Regions from separate parts of the Homo sapiens genome. Here all the other regions are linked to region 3. Evidence: promoter capture Hi-C in 16 types of primary human blood cells and fetal thymus (Javierre and others, 2016). All regions are on one chromosome and are shown on one strand. Each heading gives the region's core, a stretch centred on a gene start or on the middle of the fragment in contact. The rest is flanking DNA. Distances are from core to core; before and after follow the strand shown.

Region 1 (4,333 bases), core at 268-2,767, 140 kb after region 3:
ACTCCGGAGGCTGAGACAGGAGAATCCTTGAACCCGGGAGGCAGAGGTTGCAGTGAGCTGGGATCCACCACCGCACTCCAGCCTGGCCACAGAGCGAGACTCCGCCTCAAAGAAAAAAAGAAAAAGGTCTAAATGGAAACTGCCCCCAGGAGGCTACATTTCGGATCAAAAAACTTGCTGGTTTTAATAGTTTGGCTATAGGTATCCGATAACATGGGCCACTTCAGTCATTGAATCAACGCCAATAAGGTGGTGGGGAAAGAAATGGGGTCTAGCTCAGAGCCCCCAGAGGCATGCAGTGGGCTCATCACCAGGTGGCTTTCCTTGATCATCAGCTGCAGGGCAAGGGCCTGTCCCTCTAACCTTGACCACAGAGATGAAGGCTTGCAGCTGAAAGCCAGGGGCCTAGAACGTTCTCACCGAGGACTGGGTGCAGAGGACTAGAAATTAAGGAACCTTGGGTCAGCGCCACCACTGGGCGACCACCACACTCCACAACCTCTCTGGCCAGGCTGAGAGGCGTAGGGGGTTGTGATCAATGGGTCTGAGTCTCTCCAAAGGCGCATTTAATAGGCGAAGGAGAAAAACACCCCACCTGGCTGGGGCCCCGCCATTGCTGACTTCATTGGTTGGGGATTTCTATAGGAGCAAAACGTTCAGACCTAACGTGGGTGCCCCCCTAAAAGTCCCCGACGGCTAAGGCCAGGGCAAGGTCCAAGTGAGCAGACCTAAGCCTGCGCAGCTGCTTCGGAACGGTTCACGGCCGTCTAAGAAGGCCGATTTCTGCCGGCCTTTCTGCCAGGGGAGGAGAAACCCCAGACTTCACAGCGAACGTTCCAGGCCCGCTGAAACGAGCCTTTCTGCTTTCACGAAACCTCGTTCCAGGGGCCTGGCGCGGTGGGTTCCTCACCGTGCCAGCCTCGTGGGCGCTTCCCGGCTGCCCGTCCCGCCCCGTGTCCCGGTGTCCGCCGCGTGCTCACCCAGCCGCCCTGAGCCTGCAGCCAGGCGCGGTGCTGCCCCATGAGCCGCGAGCTCAGCAAGGCCACCAGGCGCTGGCAGTCCCGGGCGACGTCGCCCTCCTGCTCCTTTAGCCGCGGCTGGAAGCCCCACTTCTTCCACCGGGCGGTCACCAGCGGCCCTCTCTCCAGCAGCGTCCCTGCGAAGGTCACGAGCGTCACCACTCTGCCCCAGGTGGGGCCGGGGCTGTCGGAGAGCACGGAATCCGCCATCAGCGCCACCAGCTCGAAGCGGTTCCCGGGGTAGCCGAGGTAGGCGGAGAAAAAGGACCGGTGAATCTGCCGTAACCTGGCGGCCGCGGAGCGCAGCACGGCGGCCTCGGGCGTGGATGGCGCCGGCTCGGGGGTGCCGGGTTCCCGGGCGCAGTACCCCAGGTAGTCGGCCAGCAACAGCTCGGTGCGCTCCCGCAGCGGGTCGGCCATGGTGGTGCGCTCCCGCAACTGGTCAACCATGGTCCGGCCTCTGCTGGGGGGCCGGGCCTTCGCTGGTTTTCTTGGCCCGGCCGCGCCTCCCCCAGGGTAGGGCTGCCGTGCCCCGCCCCGGCCCCCGGCCCCCGGCCCCCGGTATATTGTTTTTCAGGACTGAGAGAAGAGCCTTTGATGGGAATCCCACCTGCACCTGTTCCAGTCCCCAAGGCAAGGCCTGGTGGTGCGCACGTGTTCGCGTAGCAATCAGATGCACTGTGAGACTCGGGTTATTTAGCTCCAGTGGCGCGATCTTGGTTCACTGCAAGCTCCGCCTCCCAGGTTCACACCGTTCTCCTGCCTCAGCCTCCCGAGTAGCTGGGACTACAGGCGCCCGCCACCATACCTGGCTAATTTTTTTGGATTGTTTAGTGGAAACGGGGTTTCACCGTGTTAGCCGGGATGGTCTCGATCTCCTGACCTCGTGATCCGCCCGCCTCTGCCTCCCAAAGTGCTGGGATTATAGGCGTGAGCCACCGCGCCCGGCCATCTAATATTTATATTAAACTTTCTCAGTTCATATTACTCCGTGGCTTCTTTCTCCTGATTGGATCCAGACTGATGCAGAATGGATACTAGCAGTGGTATTTCTGGGGGTTCAGGGGTCTGGAGCATGTTGAAATAGCCCTCCCAGGGTGAAAGATGAGTTGCTGCATCTTGCATCACTACAAAAGAGGCACGGCACTTGGCAGCTGTCTTAGTCTGTCCAGGCGGCTATAGCAGAATGCCATAGACTGGGTGACTTATAAATAAAGGCATTTATTTCTCACAGTTTTGTTGGCTAAAAAGTCCAAGGTTGAGGCCCTGGCAGGTTCTGTGTCTTGTAAGGACCTGCTTCCTGGTTCATAGACAACAGGCTTCTTGCTGTGTCCTCACATTGCAGTAGGTGTGGAGTAGCTTTCCGGGGTCTCTTTTATAAGGACAATAATCTCATTCGTGAGGGCTCCACCTTTGTGATCTAATACCTCCCAAAGGCCCCATCTCTGAATACCATCACACTGGGGGTTAGGATTTCAACATATGAATTTTGGGGGACACAGCCTGGAACAGTAAGCCATTTTGGACTTTGAAGGCAACATATACTGTGTTTGTGCTATTTCAACCCAATTGACAGGCTGGTGGATTGAGGAGCAGAATAAGAGAAGACTCTGCAGAAGGTTCAGGCTGCAGTAAAGCTGCCCTACCACTTGGGTCTTGTGATCCAACAGATCCAGTGGGACTTTGTCCAACAGGGATGCTGTATGGAGCCTCTGGCAAGCACTGACAGGAGAGAGTACAGACCTCTAGAATTCTAAAGTAAATCTAGAACCTCTTCTGAAGATAACTACTCTCCTTCTGAGAAGCAGGTTCTGCCTTGCTACTAGGCCTTGATAGAGGCAGAATGCCTGACCATGAAGCTTGAGCTCCCATCATGAACTGGATGTCATCTGACCTACGTAGCCATAAAATTGGATGTATACAGCAGCCACCTATCATCAAATGGAAATGGTGTATTAGAAACAGCCCAGGCAGGTTCAGAAGGTATAAGTAAATTGTATGAGCAGGCGGCTCAGACTCTTCCAACATCAACTCCTGTTGCTTTGCCTCCTCTCCCTCATTCTACAACTATGGCTTCTTGGGATGCTGCCTATGTCCAGTTGACTGAGGGAGAAAAACCTCCAGCCTGGATTATAGATGGGTCTGTATGATGTGCTGGTACCACATGAAAGAGAACAGCTGCAGTATTCACTCACACTCACTCAGGGGTGACTGTGAAGGGCAGTGGTGAAGGAGAATCCTTCCAGTGAGCAGAAACTCAAGGCTGTCCACTATGTCTGGAGTGAGAGATGGCCAGAATACAGACCTAAATTGATTCATGGACAGTCGCTGATGGTTTAGCTGGATGGTCAGGGCCTTAAAAAGAACAGGACTGGAAGATTGGTGACAAGAAAATCTTGGAAAGAGATATGTGGCTGAATCCCTCCGAATGGGCAGACTGAAGATATCTGCATCTCACCTGAATGCCCACCAAAGGGCATCCACTGCAGAGAAGACCCTGAATCAGATGGACAGAATTACATGCTCTGTGGCTGTCAGCCAGCCTCTCTATGCAGCTGCTGTGGTGTCTGCTCAACGGGCCGATGAACAAAGAGCTCTTGGCAGCAGGGACAGAGGATATGTATGGGTCCAACAACATGGAATTCTCCCTCCAAAGGCTGAGCTGGCTGGTGCTTCTGCTGAGTGCCTAATCTGCCAAAGCAAATGATTTCTTACAGTGAACTAAATAAGTGTTGTTAGAATATAAATTTCTGTACATCAAATTCCCATTTGAACTGGTTTTGACGTCTTACTGGTTTCCTTATTAATCAGTGAGTTAAAAGCTTGGATACATGTTCATGTTTTATTTGCAAGACAGTCATGATTTTACCTTTTTGTACATTAAACTTTAGCAGCAAGAACATTGTTTTCTCTTAGATTTGCAGTAGCTTTGGGGTAAATGATAAATCCTCTGGAACTGCCATTGGTAACTCAACAATGATGAAAAGAACTAAACAACAAATGAATAAATTAACCTCAACATAGAATTTCCAGTCCACACAATATGAGGCAGTTTGTAATAAGACTCGGTGAAAATCCTGTCTCTGCAACTTGGAAGCTGTGCAGCTATGGGCAAGTTATTCAACTCTCCTAACCTCAATCTCCCCATCTAAAAATGGGGCATCACGGGGCTGTCACAAGGATTACATGAATCGGTATATACAAAGTGCTTAGCACAGTACCTGGCACACAGTAAAAGGTTGTCACTCCACAGAAACTTTTATTTGTAAATGGTAAATCCTCTGGCAACGGTGACTATGCTCACTTGCCCCATT
Region 2 (3,919 bases), core at 452-2,951, 200 kb after region 3:
CCTCTCAAACCCCTGTATGGAAGGAAAACATTAATAGTCACATTTATCTCACTTGTATTTGTCAGAGATTTGTGAATTGCCTTAAAAAAATTCATGAGGCTGGGCGTGGTGGCTCATGCCTGTAATCCCAGCACTTTGAGAGGCTGAGGCAGGCAGATCACCTGAGGTCAGGAGTTTGAGACCAGCCTGGACAACATGGCTAAACTATAAAAAAAAAATTAGCCAGGCATGGTGGTGTGCGACTATAATCCCAGCTACTTGGGAGGCTGAGGCAAGAGAAGCACTTCAATCTGGGAGGTGGAGGTTGCAGTGAGCCATGATCACGCTACTGGACTCCAGGTGAGCAATAAAGTGAGACTCTATCTCCAAAAAAAAAAAAAAAAAAAAAAATTCATGAGCCACAAAAAATTCTACCCTGAATTCCCTAATTAAAAGTTTGGAGAATTAAGTTATGGGACCATCTTTAAGATTGAATACTGTAAGGTTCCATATAAGAATTTTTAATGATGACATTAAAAGAAATGTAAATGACATGGGGAGCTACTCAATCCATTGTGCTGAATGTTAAAACTGGGCTCAAATCCTCTATCTAGTACAGTCCCTAGTAAGCTTATAAATATATACACAAACATGGAAACATAAGCTATGAAATACATGAAAATATTAAAAATGGCTACCTCTAGGTATTGAGATTATGAATGACTTGTTTTCTTCTATATTTCTAGATTTTTCCACAGTGAGCATTTGTTTATTGGGAAAGTACTCTAAACACCCTTGCATTAGCCAGCTCGAGTATAACAGTGAATGCAGAGAAAGGAAGGGGAAAGGAAATGAAGGCAGGTTAGCTTTCTGCTGCCTCTGATGGCTGCAGGAGGCATGTGGCCAAACAGCAGGGAAGAGGATGACTGTAGAGAAACCGACTTCTGTAAGCGTCGGTACACAGATCACATTTTCTTAGAATATGAAAAAAGTCAAGGAATATGTTTGCTCCAGGCTAATCTAGAAAGTTGGTTTTCCTAGATTTTTCCCTAAGCCATAAATCAGAATAGTCCAAGACTCTAAGCCATAAAGCATTCAATAATAAAACTTTTCAAAAAATTACATTTAGAATAGATAGAAAAGTTAATGGTATCAGATAATACATCCTTCTATCAAATTTAGTCTAGATTTGTACTCAGAGAAACGACATAAACTTGCTTTGTTCCTTAACAATATTAGCATCTGCCTCAAGGACCTGGGAATTGGAGTAAAGCTCCCACACAGCCCCAGGAGGCTGCTGTGCCTGTTGGCTGAAATGAACACCATGTCCTTCCTGGTCTGTCTGGTTTGAGCCTGTCTTGCAGATTATTCCTCAGTTTAATTTCAAGTTAAAGACTCTTTAGAGTTGAATTGTTTTCCCCTTTCTCTTTTTATTTTTTATTTTTTGAGACAGGATCTTATTCTGTCACACAGGCTTGAGTGCAGTGGTGCAATCATAGCTCTTTGCAGTCTCAACCTCCTGGGCTCAAGTGATCCTCCCACCTCAGCCTCCCGAGTAGCTGGGACCACAGGTACACACCATCATGCCTGGCTAATTTTTATTTTTTTATTTTTATTTTTTTGAGAGTTGAGGTCTCACTATATTGCCCAGGCTGGTCTTCAACTCCTGGGCTCAAGTGATCTTTCCGTTTTAGCCTTCCAAAGTGAGCCACCATGCCCGGCCTCCTTTTATTCTTGATCTTGACTCCCATTCTAGTACTCATTTTTCCCTTATTATAAAAAGCAGTAAATGTGCTGGGTGCGGTGGCTCATGCCTGTAATCCCAGCACTTTGGGAGGCAGAGGTAGGTGGATCGCTTGAGCCCAGGAGATCAAGACCAGCCTGGGCGACATGGAGAAACCTCGTCTCTACAAAAAAATGCAAAAATTAGCCAGGTGTGGTGGCACACACCTGTAGTCCCAGCTACTTGAGAGGCTGAGGTAGCCAGGAGTTTGAGGCGGCAGTGAACCATGATCGGGCCACTGTACTCCAGCCTGTGTGACAGAGTGAGAACCTGGCTCAAAAACAGTAAATGTATAGATGGGTATAAAATGAAAAGCACCTTCACTTTCCATACCCCTCTCTAGCGATAACAAGTTCCTTGCGTATCCTTCCAGACATTTACTGCATATACAAGCACCTCTTGTTTGTTAAGATCATGTTATATATACTGTTTGGCACTTTGCTTTTTATTTTCTTTTACTGAATAAAAAAAATCGGCACCTTTTCATACGTGGATTTACTTTTCTTTCTTTTCAATGCCAATCTTTTTTTTTCATTTGATAAATATTTACTTAGCCTAGCTCACTGTTGTAGGAGGGTGATCCACAGTAAATGATACAAATAAAGTACCTGCTGCCAAGGTACTTACATTCTAGTAAGGGAGACATAAAATCAACCAATCATCAATCAGTCAACAAAGAATAAATGAATGAAAGTAATTTTAGAGAGTGATGAAGTGAACAATGAAAGGGAGCTGAAATTGTAGGAAGTTGGGACAGACATGGCCATTTTAGATTAAGGAGTCTCCATGCTGCCCAGGCTGGTCTTGATCTCCTGGGCTCAAGTGATCCACCTGCCTCTGCCTCCCAAAGTGCTGGGATTACAGGCATGAGCCACCGTGCCCAGCACATTTACTGCTTTTTATAATAAGGGAAGGTGCCTCTGAGGAGGTGGAATATGAACCGAGACAGAATATATGAAGTAAACTAGGCAAAGAAGTGGGAGAACATTCCAGAAGAGAGAATACAACATGTCTGAAGGCTGAAGGCAAGAACAAGCTTGATGGTCTGAAGCTCACCAAGATGGCCAGTGTGACTGGCGATAGTGAGCAAAGCATAGACTGATCCAAGGTGAAGTGGAAGAGGTAGACGGAACTAGGTCAGTTAGGGAGACTGTTGGCAAATCTCAACTTTCTAAGAGAAGGTCTAGCATGGTGAGGAGGACAGCTGTCCTGGGAGCTTGAATCTTCTCTACTCCCTATTCAACATTAGAGTAGCTACAAAATCTTAGGGAAATCCCTTCACCCCTCCCTGGATCTCAGCTGCTTTTTCATCTATAAGGGACAGGGCTGTTAGGAAGAGAAGGAAATGTTTTGTGCTGGAAGACTGAAGCTGAAGCAGGGGAACCCTCCTGATCTAAAAGCTGTGTGATAGGCTAAATAATGGCCCCCAAAGGTATCCACATCCTAATCCCCAGAACCAGTGGCGATACTATCTTACGGCAAAAGGGACTTTCTAGATGTGATTAAGTTAAGGATCTTGAGATGGGGAGATTATCCTGGATTATCCAGGTGGGCCCAACATAATCACATGGATCCTAATAAGAGGGAGCAGGTGGGTTAGAGTCAGAGAGAGAGGTGACCACAGAAGCAGTGCTCAGAATCACGTGAGCCTTGGGCCAAGAACATGGGCAGCCCCAAGAAGCTGGAAAAAGCAAGAAATGGATTCTCCCCTAAAGCTTCCAGAAGGACCTGCCCACCCATTTTAGTCACCGATTATAGACCTCCAGCACTATAAGAAAACAAATGTATGTTATTGCAAGCCACTAAGTTTGTGGAAATTTGTACAGTAGCAATCAGAAATGAATGCACACTGTAACCATATGATTCTAAAATGCCTTGGAATCAAGCGAGGTAGTACTCGCCTGTGGTAGAAGATAAGCAGAAAGTGACAAGGAGAAAGCTCTGGGGAGAAGCAGGAAGCTCTGTGGGAGGAAGGGGAAAATGGGGCTTGGGGCTGTGGAGTTTGATGTGAGCTGGCTTCCCATCAGAGGACCCATATAAGCTATTAATACTTCCTATATTTAATGTTGGCCAAGGGTCTGGCTTGGGGATGAGGGCCAAAGGGATGGAGGTGAAGAACTCAGTGTCTGAAGAGAGGAAACCATTTTTTCCTCAAAG
Region 3 (4,146 bases), core at 626-3,125:
AACCACAATGAGACACCACTTGATAACATCAAGGATGGCTACTTTAGAAACAAATAAAAACTTAAAATAACTGTTGGCAAAGATGTGGGGAAAGGGAACCCTGGTGCATTGCTGGTGGTAATGTAAAATGGCTCAACCACTATGGAAAACAGTTTGGCTGCTCCTCAAAATATTAAAGAATTACCATATGACTCTGCACTCCTACATAATACCCTCCTCCCAAAATTAAAAACAGGCACCCAAACATGTACATGAATTTATTTATTTTTTTGGAGACAGAGTCTCACTTTATCACCCAGGTTGAAGTGAAGTGATGCAATCTCAGCTCACTGCCAACCTCTGTCTCCTGGGTTCAAGTGATTCTCATGCCTCAGCCTTCTGAGTACCTGGGACTACAGGCACGCACGACCACACCTGGCTAACAGTTTGTATTTTTAGTAGAGACAGGGTTTCACCATGTTGCCCAGGCTGGTCTTCAACTCCTGAGCTCAGGCAAATCCGCCTGCCGGAACCAGGAATGTTTACAGTAGCACTATTCAAACAACCCAATGTCCATCAACAGATAAATGGATTAACAAATTTAGGGTGTGCACATTCAATGGAATATTATTAAATCATTAAAAATGAATAAAGTACTGATATGTGCTACAATGCCTTGAAGACATTATGCTAAGTAAAAGAAACCAGACACAAAAGACCACAATGCATGATTCAATTTATATGAAATTCCCAGAACAGATAAGTACAGAAACAATAGCAGACAGGGGTTGGAGGAAGGAGCATATGAGGAGTAAGTGCTTTATGAACAGTGTTTTATTTGGGGGTGATGAAAATAACAACTAGATATATGTTGTCTACAAGAGACTCACTTTACTTGGAGCCTAGAGGGTTGCAAGAATTCTGAACTTGGTCTTGGGTTCTCACTTCAAATAGCTCCTATTCATATTTCAAGTGCCCGTAGTCTCAACTACTTGGAGGCTGAGGCAGAAGGATGGCTTGAGCCCAGAAGTTCAAGGCCAACCTGAGCAACACAGTGAGACCCTGTCTCTAAAAAAGTAAACTTTAAAAAAACACCCACAATCCTGTGCCAGAAATAACTTCCAAGCAGCATGCACATACACTAATTCATTCATTTCATCAACAAATCCTTCATTCCTCCTCTCTGTACACAGACCCCATGCACTCCCCAATCTAACATCACAGACTCCGGAAATTCTGGAGTTTCTGCACAAGCTCTTAGAGAACACATTCTCTCCTATGTGAAACATCTATCTGTAACCCCATCCCATTATCCGTCCCAGACTCGTCATCCAGACATCTCAAGCTCCCTATCACACCATGCTCTGGTTTCATTCAAGACGGCATTCTGAGGCCCTCTGTAAATTCGCCCACCCCATCCCATATTCCTGCATTCATTTCCATTCATTCAAAAACAGCCCTTACTCTACGCTGGCCTGTGCAAGGCAAGGCGGAACAGGACTCCAACGTTCCTACCCGCGCTGCGCAGGCTCGCCTGCACTTCCACCCATGCCCCGCGCCCCTTTCGCTCCACAAGCTCCCAGGAACCGTCTGCTCCACCGACACCCAGAGCCTCGAGGCGCAGACTGTCTGACTCTCCATCCTGCCCGCCGGAGGAGGATGGCACCTCCGGGAGTGCAGGGGGCGCTGAGGCAGGAGTGGAGGAAACGCCACCTCTTGCCCGCGGCGCTGGAGCCTCCACGGTTGTCCGGCTCCCACAGCGGAAGGCCTGCCACGCACCCATCCTCCGAAGACCAGCGAACCCACCTTTACGCTCAGCTTCGCTGTCGGCGTCGCTCCCGAAGAGATCCTCCATATCCGCCATTATCGCTCACGTCCGCTGCTGCCTCGGTTAGGGGCAGCTCCCGGCCTCTCTTTACGGCACGGAACCACTGAAACACGACAGTGTCGCAAAGATTCGCCGAAGACACTCCTTTCCTTACGTGACCTAGTTTTCGCTCGCCCAGTGAACCTGTTCTCGCCTGGGTATGCATGGTATATAAGCCCGGCCATTTCGTCAATATCTGTTATTTGCCAGGATTCTTACCAGGGGGCGGGGGGGTCCTGCGTTCGGTTGCGGGTGTGGATGGGGTGGGCGGTGACTGGCGCTCTCTGGGGAAGGGCCTCTGGCTGGATTAAACCTATCGCGAGTCAGGATTGAAGCCCTTTGTTTCTTACTGAGCAGCTGTTCTCCAGTTATTTCATCCCAAACCCCTTTACCCTCTTAAAAATTGTTGAGACGGAGTCTCGCTCAGTCGCCCAGGCTGGAGTGCAGTGGCGCGATCTCGGCTCACAGCAACCTCCACTGTCCGGGTTCAAGCAATTCTAATTCCTCAGCCTCCCGAGTAGCTGGGACGACAGGCGCCCGCCACCACACCCGGCTAATTTTTTGTATTTTAGTAGACACGGGGTTTCACCGTGTTGCCCAGGCTGGTCGCAAACTCAGGAGCTCAGGCAATCCGCCCGCCTCGGCCTCCCAAAGTGCTGGGATTACAGGTACGGGTATTGATATTTACTGTATTCTTACTAATACGGTAATAAATTTTTAAGTTACTAATTCATTTAAAAATAATATACATGTTAACAAACAGCTTTTTTAAGCTTTAAATGACCATTTTTTTGGCCGGGCGCGGTCGCTCACGCCTGTAATCCCAGCACTTTGGGAGGCCGAGGCGGGTGGATCACGAGGTCAGGAGATCGAGACCATCCTGGCTAACACGGTGAAACCCCGTCTCTACTAAAATAAAAAAAATTAGCCGGGCGTGGTTGTGGGCGCCTGTCGTCCCAGCTACTAGGGAGGATGAGGCAGGAGAATGGCGTGAACCCAGGAGGCGGAGCTTGCAGTGAGCCGAGATCGCGCCACTGCACTCCAGCCTGGGCACGAGACTCCATCTCAAAAAAATAATAATAATAAAATAAAATAATTAAAAATAAAAACATTAGCCAGGCATGATGGCATGCATTTGTAGCCCTAGCTACTCAGGAAACTGAGAATGGAGGATCACTTGAGCCCAGGAGTTGGAGGCTGCAGTGAGCTATGATCACGCCACTTCACTCTAGCCTGAGTGACAGAGTAAGGCTCTGTTTCTTAGAAGAAAAAGTGAGAAAAGAGTACATCCTGTGTTACATTACCTAATTAGGCCATTATGAGAGTTTTGGTCTTGGACAAGCAACAATGAATATTTAGTTTGGAGATTATATGATATATATTTTTGTAGTAAACTTCAGTGCTTAACAGGGTCCAAATGGGTGGGACTGGGTATGTAATCATCAATCCTAGAGCTTTTGTGTATGAAGCGGATGTTGCAAGAGAAGATACATAGATAACCTGAAAACTATCTGGAATACTGGAAAAACAAGTATTCCATTTGACAGTGATTCAGTTTCATTTTCATTTAGAGTACTGTCCCTGAAAAGTACTTTGATTAAATTTATTTTCTTTTGATACAGTGTCTCTGTTGCCTAGGCTGGAGCGCAGTGGCGCCATCATAGCTCACTGCAGCCTCAAACTCCTGGCCTCAAGAGGTCCTCCTGCCTCGGCCTCCTAACACGTTGGGATTACAAGTATGGGCCACAGTGCCTGGCTAAATCTTAATAAATTGAATTACAGTTTGGTCTGGTGAGTCACCATGTCCATATTCCTGGCTATCAGAATAAACGTGTTTTTCCCATATGAATAGTATAAAACAAATCACTTCTGACTCTTGGACAGATTTTTTTGTTTATGTTTTGGCTACACTTTTTTTTTTTAAACAGAGTTTCGCTCTTGTTGCCCAGGCTGGAGTACAATGGCGTGATCTCAGCTCACTGCAACCTCCACCTCCCGGGTTCGAGTGATTCTCCTGCCTCAGCCTTCTGAGTAGCTGGGATTACAGGCATGCGCCACCATATCCGGTTAATTTTGTATTTTTAGTAGAGATGGGATTTCATCATGTTAGTCAGGCTGGTCTCAAACTCCTGACCTCAGGTGATCCACCCGCCTTGGCCTCCCAAAGTGATGGAATTACAGGCCTGAGCCACCGTGCCCAGCCTTGTTTTGGTTACACTTTATGCTGACCATTGCTCTTCTACTCATTATCTTTCTTCATAAAGGATATAATACATGAGATTGGACTTAAGGTAAATCAA

Evidence for each region. The method cuts DNA at HindIII sites, captures the fragments that hold promoters and counts their contacts. A CHiCAGO score of 5 or more calls a contact.
Region 1: the fragment with the promoter of BCL2L10 here is called in contact with the fragment with the promoter of LEO1 in region 3 in 9 of 17 cell types (activated CD4 T cells, M1 macrophages, total CD8 T cells and 6 more); the score reaches 7.3 in activated CD4 T cells.
Region 2: a contact is called between a fragment that was not itself captured here and the fragment with the promoter of LEO1 in region 3, in 8 of 17 cell types (M0 macrophages, activated CD4 T cells, M1 macrophages and 5 more). The highest score is 7.0, in M0 macrophages.

Annotation. Positions count from the first base shown.
Region 1 is chr15:52,111,258-52,115,590 of GRCh38, forward strand. It overlaps BCL2L10 (BCL2 like 10), which reads right to left and starts at 1,518. Exons shown (of 2, transcript NM_020396.4): 1 at 981-1,518. The coding sequence starts at 1,469. GNB5 (G protein subunit beta 5) reads right to left here. Exons shown (of 13, transcript NM_016194.4): 13 at 3,843-4,333. RefSeq lists a silencer at 1,365-1,524. The HindIII fragment of the contact is 9,003 bases long and covers 1-2,876 here.
Region 2 is chr15:52,170,727-52,174,645 of GRCh38, forward strand. All of the region lies in intron 3 of GNB5 (G protein subunit beta 5), which reads right to left. Among named protein-coding and RNA genes, the nearest start is that of CERNA1, 7.3 kb to the right of the region's middle. The HindIII fragment of the contact is 2,189 bases long and covers 608-2,796 here.
Region 3 is chr15:51,969,903-51,974,048 of GRCh38, forward strand. LEO1 (LEO1 component of Paf1/RNA polymerase II complex) reads right to left here and starts at 1,876. Exons shown (of 12, transcript NM_138792.4): 1 at 1,786-1,876. The coding sequence starts at 1,843. It also overlaps a transcript of MAPK6 not described here. RefSeq lists enhancers at 993-1,569, 1,393-1,922, 1,570-2,145. The HindIII fragment of the contact is 6,227 bases long and covers 1-2,617 here.